2 separate regions of the Homo sapiens genome follow, and region 1 is linked to region 2. Evidence: promoter capture Hi-C in human tissues and cell types (Jung and others, 2019). All regions are on one chromosome and are shown on one strand. The core of a region is centred on a gene start or on the middle of the fragment in contact, and the rest is flanking DNA. Distances in the headings are between cores, read along the strand shown.

Region 1 (2,700 bases), core at 57-2,556, 1.1 Mb before region 2:
GACTTCATGACCAAGAACCCAAAAGCGAATGGAACAAAAACAAAGATAAATAAAATGGAACTTAATTAAACCAGAAAGCTTCTGCACAGCGAAAGAAGCAGCAGAGTAAACAGAAAACCCACAGAGAGGGGAAAAATCTTTGCAAACTATCCAACCAAAGACTGATATCCAGAATATACAAGGAACTCAAACCAGTCAGCAAGAAAAAAACCAATCCCATGAAAATGGGCTAAGGGCATGAATAGACAATTCTCAAAAGAAGATATTCAAATGGCCAACAATCATATGAAAAAATGCTCAGCGTCACTAATTATCAGGGAAATGCAAATCAAAGCCACATGTGATACCACCTTACTCCTGCAAGAATGGCCATAATTTAAAAATAAAAAAATAATAGATGTTGGTGTGGATGTGGTGAAAGGGAAACACTTTTACACTGTTGATGGGAATGTAAACGAGTACAACTACTGTGAAAAACAGTGGAGATTCCCTAAAGAACTAAAAGTAGAACTACCATTTGATCCAGCAGTCCCACTACTGGGTATCTAGCCAGAGGAAAAGAAGTCATTATATGAAAGACACTTGCACACACATGTTTATAGCAGCACAATTCATAACTGCAAAAATATGGGACCAGACCAAATGTCCATCAATCAATGAGTGGATAAAATGTGATATATATATATATATAAAATGGAATACTACTCAGCCATAAAAATAAATGAAAGAATGGCATTTGCAACCTGGATGGAGTTGGAGGCCATTATTCTAAGTGAAGTAACTCAGGAATGGAAAACCAAATATCATATGTTCTTGCTTATAAGTGGGAGCTAAACTATGGGGATGCAAAGGCATAAGAATGATACAATGGGCTGGGTGCAGTGGTTCAAGACTGTAATCCCTGTACTTTGTGAGGCTGAGGCAGGTGAATCACCTGAGGTCAGGAGTTCAAGACCAGCCTGGCCAACATGGCAAAACCCCGTCTCTACTAAAAATACAAAAATTAGCCGGGCATAGTGGCGGGTGCCTATAATCCCAGCTACTCAGGAGGCTGAGGCAGAAGAATCGCTTGAACCCGGGAGGCAGAGGTTGCAGTGAGCCGAGATCGCACCACTGCACTCCAGACTGGGCAACAAGAGTGAAATTCTGTCTCAATAATAATAATAATAATAATAATACAATGAACTATGGAGACTCTGGGAGAAGCATGGGAGGTGGGGTGAGGAATGAAAGACTGCATATTGGGTACGATGTACACTGCTTGAGTGATGAGTGCACTAAAATCTCTGAAATCACCACTGAAGAACTTATCCCTGTATAACCAAATACGACCTGTTCCCCAAAAACCTACTGAAATAAAAAAACCACAATACAAAACAAAACAAAAAAGAATGAAGCATTCATGTGCTAGAACATGGATGAGTCTTGAAAACATTATGCTAAGTGAAAGAAGCCAGTCACAAAAAACCACATAGTGTATGACTCCATTTATAAGAAATGCCAGAATAGGCAAATCTATAAGGACAGAAAGTAGATTAGCAGTTACCTAGGGCTGGATGGTTGTGGGTTTTTTTGGGGAGGGAGTTGATTAAAACGTTATAAAATTGTAGTGATGGTTGCACAACTCAGTGAATATACTAAAAACCACTGAACTGCACACTTTAAAAGGGTGAATTGTATAGTATGTGAATTATATCTCAAATCAAGCTGCTGAAAAATAAACAACAGCGGGCTGTGAGCCAAAATTGTCCTGCAGGTGGTAGGTAGGTTGGCAACTTCTGTTGTGGATATATTCACGCAGGATGACAGATGAACTGATTCCTTTCAGAGGCCTGTTAGTGGATTCAGCTATTTGAGCTTGGAAGACTCACTTAAGGAGAGCTGGAAGTTGACTGTAATCAGAAAGTCCTTTGTTCTCAGGTCTTGCTGGTGAAAGGATCTATCTTATAGATGTTTGACATAAGCAATAATGAACTCCTCACCACCTGCTGGTTTGTAATTACAGCCACAAATTCAGCCCAGGAACTCAGGTACATTCAGACTCATTGTGGTTTCTAGTACTGGGTTCTTGCATAGCTACTTGGTTGCAAGGACCTTCACTTGGTCTCAGCCACACTTCCCAGACAAGCAATCATTTTATCCATCTCTCTTCTTCTAGACCATTTGGTTAGTGTCTTAGTCCACTCAAGCTGCTATCACAAAATGCCACAGACTGGGTGGCTTATCCAAAACAAATATTTCTCACAGTTTTGAGGAGCTGCAAGGGAAGTTCAAGATCGAGGCACTGGCAGATTTGGTGTCTGGTGAGGGCCTGCTTCCTGGTTCATAGATGGCTGTCCTCTCACTGTGTCTTCATATAGTGGAAGTGGCCAGGGAGCTCTCTGGAGTCTCATATAAGGGCACTAATCCCACTTTTGAGGGCTGTGCCCACATGAATCACCTCTTGAAGGCCACACCTCCAAATACAAGCACATTGGGGGTCAGGTTTCAACATATGATTTTTGGGGAGACGTAAACATTCAGTCTATAGTGGCTAGTCAGCTTCAATTCCTAACCGTCTCAGATTTGAAAAACAAAGCTTCATCTCACTGTCCTTTTGGAGAGCTAATATGAGGGGCTAAGGGTAGAGTTTAATTTAAATTTCCTTCTTACAATCAGAGTCCTCGCCAAGGCAACTGCTTAGTTTTCGTACTGCACTTG
Region 2 (2,700 bases), core at 87-2,586:
CAGATTTCAAGTCCAGCATCTCAACGTGACAACCTTGGTAACTCTGCATGAACGGACTGGATAGTAAAGTGGAATTATTACTGAGAACTGCAATGAATAAAATCTTTTGCATTTTTTGCCTACGTTTCACAGAGGGTGATATTTTTCTGAGGCAATTAAATTTATACCACGGCCACAATACTGAAACGTTCTGACCAACAAAGTCATGCTCCTGCATCTACACAGCAGATAACTGCAGAAACGGCTTCCTTTCTTCCTTGTAAAATTGCCTGAAAACAGCTCCCCCTTGCTGTCCGTCGAGGCATATCTTCACCAACGTTAAAACAGAGCTGAGGGAGATCGCATTTCTGCCTCCCTCCCGCCCTGCAGAGGGGCTCCAGCTGTTCAGAGTAACGGATTACTAGGTAGGTGGTTGTTTCCCCTCCTTCCCAGGGCCTCTTTCCTCTCTTTGAGATTGCCTCTTTCTTACTCCTGAGCACAGGAGCCGGGCGGGTTTTCTGTCCCTTGCCCTGGACAGCACTGCCTGGATGGCCGCTGTCCGGCAGCTGCTCTTTGTCCACCCAAAAAGATGTCCCCACGACTCAGTAGTAACCAGACGGTCCCCACGGACCACTGCGGCCAAATTTCCGCCATCCCCGCTGTGGGAATCAGGCTTTTCCCGCAGAAAACCCCAGGAATCTAGAGAAAACTCCTTAAGTCCCTAGTCTCCATAGAGAAAACCAGGAGACACTCCCCCCAAACCCCGCTGTGAATACAGGCACAGCAGCCACTGGGGCTGCAAAGTGATGAGTGCGTTCTTCCCGTCGCAAACATAGGGTAATAAATAGCATGCATCAAAGACGTTACTAGGAAGAGATAGCTCTTTAAGTCACGAGCGGGGAGAAATGTTTGCCCCGGGAAAATTTGCCTGGGGAATAAAATTTGCCAGACTGCTGCACGGGTGAGCTCGGTGAGAAGGAAGAAACCCGGACTGGAGGAGGTGAGGTCGAGAGCCAGGTTCAGGTGCAGGAGCTAGATGCGTGGACGCCGGTGCGTGGACTGGAGGTTTCCAGGTACCGCGCTTAGCGTGCCTGTTGAAGTCAAATGCATGGTTAAGGAGGCTAGCGAGGAAGGCTAGTGAGGGAAGCTTGTGGAAACGGCTACGAGCCCAGAAAAGGCATGACTCGTCCAGTTGTCCAAGTTTTTGGAAGGGAAAAGCGGGAAAGCGCCACGATCCCACCTACTGTGAGGAGGAATCTGCGAGTCTCCCAGCTCCACCCCCTCCACAGTGATGCAGAGGACAAACACCGACGTAGGGAGAGGAAAAAATAAAACTCCAGGGAGCGGGGAGTAGGCAACCAGCAGTCTTCCGGCAATAGGGCGGGAGGGAGCGCGTCCCAAGGAAACAAGCACCGCATAAATACTTGAGTTGGGAACCCAGTGCTTCCGGAAGCTCGGAGCTCACCTTCCCGACCTCGCCGAAGTTGAAAAAAGGCAGAGCAGGGAGAGGGGCCAGCTCACCCTGCTGAGAGCTGCTCAGTGGGCAGGCGGGACGCTGCTCCGGGAGACGCCCACTGGAGGGATCGCAGAGCCCGGCAAGCTGCGAGCGCGCCAAAGACCCTGCGCTTCGGACGAGGAGCCCAAGTCCTCCGAGACGGGGAGGGAGCGGCCCGCGAGGGCTGGAGCTCCGAAGAGGGCCGAGTAGGAGCTGCATGGACAGCATGCGTCTCTCCGCCGGTCCCGACGCGGGGCCCTCGGGCAACTCCAGCCCATGGTGGCCTCTGGCCACCGGCGCTGGCAACACAAGCCGGGAGGCCGAAGCCCTCGGGGAGGGCAACGGCCCACCGAGGGACGTGCGCAACGAGGAGCTGGCCAAACTGGAGATCGCCGTGCTGGCGGTGACTTTCGCGGTGGCCGTGCTGGGCAACAGCAGCGTACTGCTGGCTCTGCACCGGACGCCGCGCAAGACGTCCCGCATGCACCTCTTCATCCGACACCTCAGCCTGGCCGACCTGGCCGTGGCATTCTTCCAGGTGCTGCCGCAAATGTGCTGGGACATCACCTACCGCTTCCGCGGCCCCGACTGGCTGTGCCGCGTGGTGAAGCACCTGCAGGTGTTCGGCATGTTTGCGTCGGCCTACATGCTGGTAGTCATGACAGCCGACCGCTACATCGCGGTGTGCCACCCGCTCAAGACTCTGCAACAGCCCGCGCGCCGCTCGCGCCTCATGATCGCGGCCGCCTGGGTGCTGAGCTTCGTGCTGAGCACGCCGCAGTACTTCGTCTTCTCCATGATCGAGGTGAACAATGTCACCAAGGCCCGCGACTGCTGGGCCACCTTCATCCAGCCCTGGGGTTCTCGTGCCTACGTGACCTGGATGACGGGCGGCATCTTTGTGGCGCCCGTGGTCATCTTGGGTACCTGCTACGGCTTCATCTGCTACAACATCTGGTGCAACGTCCGCGGGAAGACGGCGTCGCGCCAGAGCAAGGGTGCAGAGCAAGCGGGTGTGGCCTTCCAAAAGGGGTTCCTGCTCGCACCCTGTGTCAGCAGCGTGAAGTCCATTTCCCGGGCCAAGATCCGCACGGTGAAGATGACTTTTGTGATCGTGACGGCTTACATCGTCTGCTGGGCGCCTTTCTTCATCATCCAGATGTGGTCTGTCTGGGATCCCATGTCCGTCTGGACCGGTACGTGCCGGGAAAATAGAGGAAAGTGCA

The links. The method cuts DNA at HindIII sites, captures the fragments that hold promoters and counts their contacts. A contact is called where the count stands out against the background at its distance.
Region 1: a fragment that was not itself captured here is called in contact with the fragment with the promoter of AVPR1A in region 2 in 1 of the 25 tissues and cell types used here (thymus).

Annotation. Positions count from the first base shown.
Region 1 is chr12:64,245,202-64,247,901 of GRCh38, reverse strand. No RefSeq gene overlaps it. Among named protein-coding and RNA genes, the nearest start is that of KICS2, 24 kb to the right of the region's middle. The HindIII fragment of the contact is 5,361 bases long and covers 1-2,700 here.
Region 2 is chr12:63,149,837-63,152,536 of GRCh38, reverse strand. AVPR1A (arginine vasopressin receptor 1A) reads left to right here and starts at 1,336. Exons shown (of 2, transcript NM_000706.5): 1 at 1,336-2,670. The coding sequence starts at 1,701. The HindIII fragment of the contact is 8,253 bases long and covers 1-2,700 here.